Regions from separate parts of the Homo sapiens genome. Here region 2 is linked to region 1. Evidence: promoter capture Hi-C in 16 types of primary human blood cells and fetal thymus (Javierre and others, 2016). All regions are on one chromosome and are shown on one strand. The core of a region is centred on a gene start or on the middle of the fragment in contact, and the rest is flanking DNA. Distances in the headings are between cores, read along the strand shown. Region 1 holds the start of PPFIA2 (PPFI scaffold protein A2). Region 2 has its middle 31 kb from the start of CCDC59.

What was found. Contacts are between HindIII fragments. The CHiCAGO score rates a contact against its expected background, and 5 or more counts as called.
Region 2: a contact is called between a fragment that was not itself captured here and the fragment with the promoter of PPFIA2 in region 1, in 1 of 17 cell types (M1 macrophages). The highest score is 5.9, in M1 macrophages.

What each region holds. Positions count from the first base shown.
Region 1 is chr12:81,756,075-81,761,740 of GRCh38, forward strand. PPFIA2 (PPFI scaffold protein A2) reads right to left here and starts at 3,276. Exons shown (of 33, transcript NM_003625.5): 1 at 3,206-3,276; 2 at 2,326-2,433. RefSeq lists an enhancer at 2,136-3,074. The HindIII fragment of the contact is 5,625 bases long and covers 2,836-5,666 here.
Region 2 is chr12:82,324,710-82,330,375 of GRCh38, forward strand. No RefSeq gene overlaps it. Among named protein-coding and RNA genes, the nearest start is that of CCDC59, 31 kb to the right of the region's middle. The HindIII fragment of the contact is 1,538 bases long and covers 1,593-3,130 here.

The DNA.
Region 1 (5,666 bases), core at 2,026-4,525:
TTAGTTAGCAGGCCATGCATGAAACCTACACATTGAGCCGCTATGTCATTCTGAGAAATGATTACCAGGAGCCAATATGTTTACTTTTGACATTTAAGGTTAAAACAAAGTACTGGGAGAGCAAATCATAGCATCATGACAATTTGTGCCCAAACACTCACAACGTTAGGGTTACCTATAGATTTAAATTCTTAAATCTATATTTTAAATTACGTCCTTCTTGAATGAAAGTTATTAATCCCTTTCCACCCTGAATCACTCAGAACAACTTTAAATTCCAAGGCAAAGCATAACAGCAGTGAATACCCCAATATAATTTTCACCTGAAAATAATATCCTAACAATCCCTCATTGTTACCATGGGATATAAACATTCACAAACTTTAGGGTCTTAAATCAACATTAAAGGTAGTCTTCGATTTAGTCAAAAGATGCTATGATGAAAAGTGGCTTAGGGACTTAGAAAGTCTATTAAATCTACACTCAAAAGAACTTGATTTGATTCCACTCCTAAGGCAGGTGAACCAGGACAAGTTACTTTACATGTTAAAACTTTAGTTCTCTCTTTCATGAAAGAGGGCCAATAATCTATGCTTAGAGGAAAAAAAAGAAAATATATAATAGGTTACCTGACTGAGAACACACAGCAAAACATATAAAGGGCAATTACAAATGTAAGTATTAATTTCTATTATAAAGTGATCAACATTAATCTTTGTAGAAACAATATTTTACCTTTACGACTCATTCTGCTGCTGTAAAGGTTTAATTCTAGTAGATACTTTTGAACTCTTCAAATCCAATTTATAAAAATCAAATTATGCAAAATTTACTTAGGAAATAAGATGAATATATGCTGCTTATACCTTGCAGTCAACCCAAATGAGTAAATCCAAAGTCTTCTTATCAAAATTAGAAAAAAATAGTCTACAAAAAAATAAGGCCACTTTCATGAACTAGCTTAGTTTCTTTCATTAGAATTCAGATTCTAACATAAATTACAAAATATTTGATTAATCCTTAAAATGCAGTATAACATTTCTTAAATGCACATTTTGCACATTTTAAGTATTAAAAGCAATTAAAGATATATATTCAATATAAGAGTTAAACACCCTTTTAAAAAATGGATGACATCTGAAGCAGCTTGCACAGTCCGGAAGGCTATGGTCATTCAATGTCTAGTGCGTTTCACCCAGATACATCACTTTTAACTTTTATAATCAGTATCAATACTAAAAACTGCATTCATCACATAATTTCTGAAAAGCCAGAAAGGGCATTTTAACAATTTGCCTTGATATTTGCTTTTTCATCATTCCCCCCTCAAAGTCAATTTGATATATAAATTATGTTATCTTCATCTAGATATTGATGCTTTCCTCATTAAATTACTGAAGGTTTTGAAACCTAGTCAGAGACATTGTTAATTTTGTTGAGAAAGAAAAAAAGTAATAATAAATCTGATTGGCTTAATTATCCCAGTGCTTAAATTTAGCCGGAAGAATTTTATATCAGGAAAATAACTCCTTTATTCTTAGCACATAGCCTTGACTGTCTTTTAAATTTCTCAGATTTCAAAATAAAAGTTTGAATGCCCACTGGAGTCCTCACTCAAGGGCTTTCAAGATCCAATGTGTTCCTTAACAATATATGCCATCCAAGCAGTACCTCTTCAGATATGAGAGTGCTACAAAAAGCTTTTTTTCTTTTTTCTGTCAACAAATGACTTTATTTAATCATATCACTAGGAATTCGGCCCTACTAGAGGTAAGAATGTAATTATTATCCATAGTGAGTTTCTTCTGAAAACATTTAGTCTTAAGAACCATCCCAGCTCCACCTCAGTTAACCTACAAGGAGTAATTCAGTGAGAGAAATCCTAGCCATTGTCTGATTACATTACATGAATATTCTCCCTCCTATTTAACTCTTTGAAAGCCTCTGTCCTCGGGAAATATGATTATCACCTTTAATGGACACATTTTACACTTTCTTTACCCTAGTGCATTTACGGACAGCCAGAGCCAGCTCAACCCACACTACTGGACAGTTATCTCTCAGCCACACCCCCCACCACCTTGAAGAAGTTGACTTCATCATTTCCACACTAAAATTGTTCATCCTGCCCAACAGGACACAGCCAAGTAGGCAGGAGGTAGAGAGATAGGAGATGGAGAGGATGAGGTGAAAGCAAAAGGCACCTAACGGTAATCAACAAGGAGGAATTTGCATCTCATCTTCCCTGGGGGCGGGGTGGGGCCGGGGAGGTGGTCAAAAAATACAGCGAAAGGAGACAGTAAAACTCAAAGACAGCTTCTGTACCTAATGTCTGTGATTTCGGGTCCTTGCTTCTTCAATTGATCAATGACAACCGCAGTCTCCGGCTTGAGGAGAAGGGAGGCTCACACCCAGCACTCCTGGACCATTTCCCTAGCAACGGGAGGAGAAAGGCAGCTCAGACACACGCGTGCCCCGGCGCCCTCCCGGAACGTGCCCCGGCCCGGTGGCGTGGCAGGAGCTCGGCATCTTCCCGTGGCTCCGTCAGCAGCCAAAAGGAGAAGCGTCCATCGGAAAAATGGCATATTACAAATTTTGCTTTGGGAAGCAAAGCTCGGTTCAGACCATTGTCAAAGGAGGAGAGGGGGAGGCGGCTCTTAAAGCAGCCGCGGCCCCTTTGCCAGAACAGCCGCAGCTCCCCGCGTGCAGCTGGAGCCCCGGGGCGGAGACCGGAGACCGGGGACTGGGTTTGACTTTCAGAAACTTAACCACGCGGCGCCGCTCCCCCTCCGCGCCCGGGCCACCCGGGGTGTGTGGGGCGTCCCTCCAAAAGAAAGCTTGGAGAAAAGGCGTGAGAAGTATCTGGGAGAGAAGTTCTCCACCCAGTCTCCCCTCCTGGAGCCCCTCTGGAGTTTAAGGCTAACCCTGGGAGTTAGAAACCTAAAGGAAAACGAGTCCCTAGGGATGCAAAAAGCAGGACAGGTCTCCTCCTGGCCCCCAGCCTGTTTCCGCGCGCTCCCGTGTCTCGTTTCACTTAAAGGAGGCGCTTTTTCTCTGGAAAGGCAAACATCACCCCACGCCGTCCCCCGGCCCCCCTTCCCTCCCCCCCGCCGCCCCCCCGCCGCCACAGCACACACACCCATTTTTCTCCTCCCGGCCTTTCTGCAAGCCTCTTTGCTTGCTTCAATTGGCCGGAAGAACCAACCTGCTGGCAGCCGGTGAGGACGCTACAGCATCTTCTCTCCTCACTTGCCTCGTGCGGTGGCTGCTACTCCTCCTCCTCCGTCTCCTCCCCTCCTCCTCCTTGGCAGCCACCACCTCCTCTTCCTCTGGAACAAGGGCTTCCCCTGGAAGCTGCTGCAGTGGTTTCCACCGGCCCTTAAATAAATTCTGAAGTAATCACGTCTTTGCTCTCCTCCTCACGCACACGCGCCCGCGGATACACTCGTCTCCCCCAGAGCCGCTCCCGGGCTGCCGAGGCTCGCTCTGCTCCCAGTGCCCCCTGCGAAGGCGAGGGCCAGGGATGGGCAAAGTGGGAAGGGGGCACACGCTTCCCCGCCTGGGCTTCTTTCACACAATGGGCTCTACAGCCTTCGCTTGTGTCAGCCTGCGCTGGTGGGGATGGGAACGGACTTGGGCACCTTTTGGCTCCCCGGTCTTCTGTGCTTGTCATTTCTTTAAGCAGCTTTCTTCCCACTGGGCCAGGGCATGGTAGTCATGGTTGTAGGGACCTGAGCCAATCTAGGGTGTGGCGGCATCTGTCATTTCTCATTACCTCTTCAGTTCTTCTTCATTCATATTGTTTTGGTAATGGGAATTGTATGTTAAGTATTCCCTGCCCGAGTAAATTTTAGCTTTGAGCAGAGTCTGGTCTCTCCATCGCGCTCCAGTCCCCCTTATATCTCCACCTCCCTTTACCTACCCTCTTTTCTTTCCGTTGCTGCTGTCCATTCATACAGACTGAGGAAGCAGGAGACAAAATCAGTACCTACTCTGAGCAGAAAGGGAACGTTTCTGTGAGGGAGAGTCACGAATCCTGCTGGGTTTGGTGAAAATGAAGAGGACATGCATGAAGGAATTGGAGGATTAAACACTGAATATATTTTGGGGGTTACTGAAAATATTCTGAGTGTGCTACACGAAAGCCAAAAGACGTGTTTTACTTTTGTGTAACGCCAAGAGTCCAAAGTTAACAAAGAACTAGTATGTAAATAACTGTTCACTTAAAATTAACTACAATATCCAAGAAACAATCTTTGTTTCTGAGGGAAGTATTTAATTCAGTTAGCGACTTTACAATGGAAAGTGGGGTAAAGCTCATGTATTTACCCAACTTCTATTCTAGACTGTTATTTAAATTTTACAACACAACACAATCCTATAAGAAGTATAAAAATAATACGAAAATTCATTAGATGTCAACTGGAGCACTATTTCTCAGACATAATGTGCATACAGATCATCCATGGATCTTGTTAAGTTGTAGATACTGATTCACCAGGAATGGGGTGAAACCTGAAATTCTACCCTTCTAATGACTCCCAGATGGTACTACACTTGAGGAGGAAGGGTCTAGACCACCCAATCGACCCACAATTTGATGTGGCTTAAATACCCCTAACTACAGGAAACTCTTCACCTCACAGGATAGCCTAGTCTATTTTCAGACAAACTTCATATTGTAATAGCTTCAACATACTAATCATATATCAGTACTCATAACTTTCACTCTCTAGAATTCTACACAAAACATAAAAATTCCTTATACATGAGAGATATTCTTATTTTTACATATAGCTATTATGTCTATTTTTACAAGAATTCCTTCCTTATTAAACCTTGGTTTGAATTTCCTTGGCAATCAACGTTTGTTAATTACTGGCTCAGATGTTCCTACTGTTTCCAAGAAGAGTTTTGATTTCCTTGAGTCCCATTCGTATGTCAAATACAAGTTTTAATTGTAAGTATAATCCCCACATACAGTTGACACAGCATAGTTAAAGGCTAACCCATGGTAGGTATCGCAGAAAGAAAAACTTTGATAATGGGAGGCAGAAAAAAATATCACGAGTTAAAGGATATTTTGTTAAGAAGATACAGTCTTCATAGTAAATTTCAGCTGAAAAACTTGACATTATCACTGCTAACTTCACTGCAAAGAGTGTAAATAATATATTAAAACTGAGAAAGACTGTTTAAAGTAGCAATTTTGCATGAGGCATTAGGTGAGCCGATTCACATGAGAAGAGTTACCACCTGCACCAGTTTCTCTAGTTTAGGCCCTTAAATTTAGCATACAAGAGACACTCCAGAAGGGCTTGTTACAACACAGATTGCTGGGCCCTATCCTTCGAGTTTCTGATTCATTACATCTGATTCATTACGTGCCTATTAAGTTCCCAGGTGGTACTAATATTGCTAGGTCAGGGATCCCACTCTGAGAAACACTGTGTAGATACATCTGGAGAAATTTGGGAACAAAAGAAGCACAGAGCAAAAAAAAAAAAAAAAAAAAAGAACAGGGAAATATTTTTTATTCAAAGAAAAAACATCCCCCATACTAATATAAATCTGACTCTACTGTTTTTGATGCCCAATGAATTATTAAGATGAGATATGCTTGTCTCCTGAATAGTCAACCAGATTTAAGTAGAAGTAGTGAAAGC
Region 2 (5,666 bases), core at 1,112-3,611, 570 kb after region 1:
TTATCAGAAATGTAATTATCAGGTCAAAGTGTGTGGATATTTTTTAATCTCTTGATAAATGTCAAGAAATTGTCTGGAAAATTGCATCAAATTAGACACCCTGAAAATGCACCTGAGTTACTGCTTCCCCAAATTTCAATACTGTACATTATCATTGTTTTTATTAGCCAAATTGAAAGGCAAAAAACATAGATGAAAAACTTCATTATGCAAATTTGCTTATTCTGGTGAGAATGTATCTAGAAATCATTTTTATTTTTTTCTTTTAAGAAATACCTATACTTGGAAATGCTTGCTTTTTAAAAAATATTGAATTGGGAAACTTTATCCTGTGAATCAGAAAAGTTTATTCTGTGATCTGTGTCTTTAATATATTGTATAAATGTCTTTTCCCAGTTTGAAGCTTGTCTTTTAACTGCTTATTTTTACTTAAAAATATAGAAATATTTTTAAGTTTATATACTAAAATATGTATAACTTTTTGCTTTATAATGCATTTTAGGGTAATACTCTGTTATTTCTTATCTCCAAGAAAAGATGGATAATCAAATATATTATTTACAATTGTTTTCTAAGCCTGTTTTAAAATGAGTGTATTTTACAAGAATACTACAACTTTTTGCGAAGTATGACTAGGAATTTAAAAGTTGTTATATTTGTGTTTCCTAGCAAAATTCAAAACTTAAATGCTCATTTTATGTAAAATATTTAAAATGAAAGCATGGAAAATTCAATAATGATAAGAGTTTAAATATATCATTCTGAATATTTTTTCAAAATTTAATTATTGCTGTACTATGTATAGCATATAGTTGAGAAATTTTAGTTTTAAAATAAATTTTAAAACCTTTATCAACACATTATTATACCTTTAAATATTCAATTTTATTTATAATATATTGTGTTTCATAAAATAAATTACACATCACAATATTATATAAATAAATCTATATAGGCTTATTTCAGAGATACTGTGGGTTCAGTGCCAGATCACCACAATAAAGTATATATGGTAATAAAGTGAGTCACATGAATCTTTTGGTTTCCCAGTGCATATAAAAATTATGTTTACACTATACTGTAGTCTATTAACTGTGCAAAAGCATTATGTCTAAAAAAACCCAATGTATATACCTTAATTTAAATATACTTTATTGCTAAAAAAATGCTAGTGATCATCTGAGCCTTCAGGAAGTCGTAATCTTTTTGTCAGTGGAGAGTCTTGCCTCGATGTTGATGGCTGCTGGCTAATTAAGGTGGTGGTTGCTAACGGTTGGGATGGCTGTGGCAATTTCTCAAAATAAGACAATAACAATGAAGTTTGCCTCATCAACCAATTTTTCTCTTCAGAAAAGATTTCTCTGTAGCCTGTAGCATGCAATGCTGTTTGATAGCATTCTACCCACAGTAGAAGCACAATAAAGCGAAGGGCAATAAAGTGAGGTATGCCTGTATATATACACACATACACACACACACAGCAGATAATATATATAGAAAACAAACAGAACAAAATCTAGAACAAAAATGAAATGGATATATCAAACTCAGAATAATAGACTTACTTTGATAGAGCATTAAATTTAACACTAAGCTTCCTGACTTAAATAATATCTGATACAACAAAATCAGGTCTACCTCTGCTATCACATAACAAGCAGCCCACAGGGCTTTTGTAACCTTTGCTTGATTGAATTACTGTCACCGAGAAGTTCAGTGAAGCATTTTCTGCTTCCTAGCAGTCTCCATCATTCTAGTATTTATAAATAGCAAAGAGCAGCAGGCTGCAAACAAAACTTCCATTGGAATAACATATCCAAGATTAGTTCATTTATAAAGTTCCTGCTAAATAGTCAATCCCCTTTTAGCTGATCATGTTTTCATCCTTTTCTAATTTCCTACACTTGAAGGGGAAAAGCACTTAAAAATATTTAGAGGTATTATTCATTCAAGGTTTTCTTCTGTTTCTATGTATATTCTTACATTTGAAAACTATGCTCATGTGATCAAATAAGACAAAAGAATATATATTTATATATATTTATTAACTATTTTACAGTCTTCTGATTTTTTTCTGACTTTGGTCATAAAAGGTAAGTAGAAATCACATTTACTATACTCATTTCAATTTTATGTTATCTGCACTGTGTACATAAACTAAATATATGCCAAAAATTTCCCTCCTTCAAAAGGAAATTTAGATTCATTCCTAAATGATTTGACTTTTGGAGGGCTATAAATATATAGGCACTTTTTGATTATGTATGTGTAAACTTTGACCAATCAAGATATTTGAGTGAATATTTTGAATTCTTAACTTTATTCCATTAATCAGTAAAAGAATATATTCTTAAACAATTTGTAATTCCTCACTAGTAAAACAGTGCCTTGAACTCCCTCTGCTGGCCTTATAAGGGTAGTTTAACTTTAAAAAGTCATTCACATATTTGTATAATAATCTAGCATCGAAAAACAGAAACACTTTATATGTTGCATAATGACTTCAACTATAATAAAAATTCAAGTTAAAATATACTTATCCTCTTTTAACCCTAAAAAATACAGCTTATATCATAAAAAGTGATACTGAAAGGCTATTACTATAATATAAAATCACAATAATCAAAATAGTCTGAGGCCTGGAACTCCCAGCCTCAAGCAATCCCTCCACCTCAACACTCCAAAGTGCTGGGATGATACACATCATATGTCTGTATCAAAATATCTCATATACCCCATTACTACATACACCTATATACTCACCAAAATTAAAATTGAAAAAAAAAAAAAAACAGAAGCAGGCACAGGAAAAATTAAAAAAGAAAGAAAAAGATCAGTGTAAAGAGTAGAGCATCCAAAAGAGTGTGTTAGGAATTTAAGGAATTGTTACAAGCATGACAATTGAATCAAGTTGGGAATTAGGAGTTTATCAATCAATGTATACTTAAATACTTGGTCATATTTCGAAAATAAAACAAAGATATATATTGACTTCATACTCTAAACCAAAATAAACTCCAGACGGAATTTTAAAAATTTAAATATAAACATTAAATTAATATAATCATTGCAACAATATTTTGAAGAATTTCCTATCTTTAGATGGGAAAGTTCTTTCTAAAAAACAGGAAGCTTAGCAGTGATAAGGGAAAAATAGTCATATTTATCTACACACATATTTTCATAAAAGGAAAACACCATAAACAACATCAAAGGCAAATGATTGGGGCAAATATTGCAACAGATATGATAGATAAAGGCATAAATTCCCTACTACACAAAAAGCTTCTATAAATTGGTGAGAAATAGAAAAGGAACTCAATAGAAAAATAAGCAAAGACTTATGCTAAGGAAATTCACAAAAGAAATCTAAAGAGTCAATAAACATACAAAATCCTGCTTGTCCTCACTAATAGTCAAGGAGAATAAAAGTAAAATGCACAGTGAGGATTACAAGTCATTAACGGGATACTTAAGCCTTGGGCTAATTGGCAAAAATTCAAAATATAACAACATCCAGTGCAAGTTGCTGCAATCATTTAAAAAATATTTCGGCAATATCAATAAATCAAAGACACACACACACACACAGGCACACAACATTTGCTGAAGTAATTTCACTTGGTGAATATCGCCAATGAAAACAAAGTACCAACACCAAAGGACATGCATCTGGTGACACGTAATGTAATTTGTTTGTAATGGCAAAAAATAGGAAACATTCTAATAGTAATCAAATATAAAATACTTGAATACATTTTAGTACATTTTATTATATAATTATTTAAATAAAATATATAATATATACATATTTGTCAGAAAGAAATATGTATTGCTAATGATGAATCATTAAGATGAACCATGATAAATAATTTTAAAAAGCAGTCACAACAATATGGCATTTGTATATGATTTTTCATGTTTGGGTCAGCATAAAAGAAGTTGTGGAAGGAAAGGACTAGGCCCTTTATAGCAGCTATCAATGAGGTAGGAATGGAGAGGGTGGGGGGAAATTTTAATTTTTTTATATACATTTTTGAACTTTTTTACTAATTAAAATAGGTATTAATATTTTTTATAATTGGACATCTTAATAAAAATTAAAATTCAAAGATAGACAGCTAAAATGAGGTATTCCTATATATCTTTCAGGACATAAGGTTTGTTCTGTACATTTTAGGTCATAGGCTCTATCATAATTCCTCTTTATTTTTCGTTTATTACCCCCAAAAGGTAAAAGAAATGCTAACCTTCCAGCAGTCATGTCCATGAAATTCAGGTGCGGAGAGGAGAGAGGCAGCAGGGGAATTTTCCAGCACTCATACTTCAGAAAACTCCCCAATGGATGTTGAAAACCACCTCTTCAAAGCCCACCCTGTGCTCAGAGCAACGGCTTTACATATTAGGTAAATGATAAAACGTTCTCCCCACTTGTTTTCCACAGGTTTCATTAGGGGCTGGCTGTGATCACCTGTGACAGCAATACTGATTCCCAATATAGTTTCAAAATTATGCCAGAAAAGTAGTGCAATATTTTTTTTCCTCAACCTTGGCTGCACCTTAAAATAAATTAGAGAATAAACAAAGAAAAAATATTGTGCTCAAGTTGATTGAATCAAAATCTTGGAGATAGGCATTGGTTCTCCTGTGCTGTTTTTTGTTTGTTTTTTGTTTTTCGTTTTCTTTTTTTTTTTGAAGCTCTTCAGGTGATTCAAAAGCACAGTGAGTGTTGGGAAACATTAACAGGGTAAGGGTCTCAAGCCTGGTGCTAAGGTGGTAATTGGAATCTATTTTTTCAAGTTTCTGCCCATTTTGGGAGCAAAGGAATTAACTGCTTTTTTATTTCAGACTACCTTTTTTTTTAAGGACTATTTGTATAGTGAACAGCGCTGAGAGAGCTGAGAGTAGGTTTGTTTACTGTCTAATATAATAAAGACAATGCCTCCCTCTGGGTCAAAGGTTGGGCAAATCACAAAAGATACAGATTTTCTAAGCTCAGAGTTCCCCTGCTGTGATAAAAACCTACTGCATTTATAGCATCCAGCTGGCCTTTATTGAAGAACCCTGTGGGGATCAGGTTTCAGGGGACTGGTGAAAAAAAATGATAATACTCTGGCTACTGCTATTGTTGTAAATAGTAAACTGTTCTCTGTCTTTGAGTCAAGAATCTTGTCTCTTCTACCAGTATTCATAAAATGTGGAGGCTAATTTGTTAGCTTGCAAGTTGGGTAAAATCTCAGACCCTTTGCAGTTTTTGACAGAAAGTTCCAGTTTCTCCATAACCACAGCCACCCTTCATATCATCTCGGCCATTCTAAGAGATATGGTTTTAATTCACATTTCCCTGATAACGAATGATACAAGGCATATTTTCCTGTGCTTGTTGCCATCTATATATTTTCTTTGGTGATGTGTATCTTCAGATCGTTGGCCCCATTTTACAATGGATTGTTTGTTTTCTTGTTATTGAGTTTTAAGATGTATATATTTTGGAAGCAAGTCCTTTGTCAGATAGGTAATGTGCAAATACTTTCTCCCAGTCTGTGGCTTGTGTTTCCATTTTCTTAATGATGCCTTTCAAAGAACAGAAGTTTTTTTATGTTGACGAAGTCATAGTTATCAATGTTTTACTTTATGCATCATATTTTTTTTTTTTTGACGGAGTC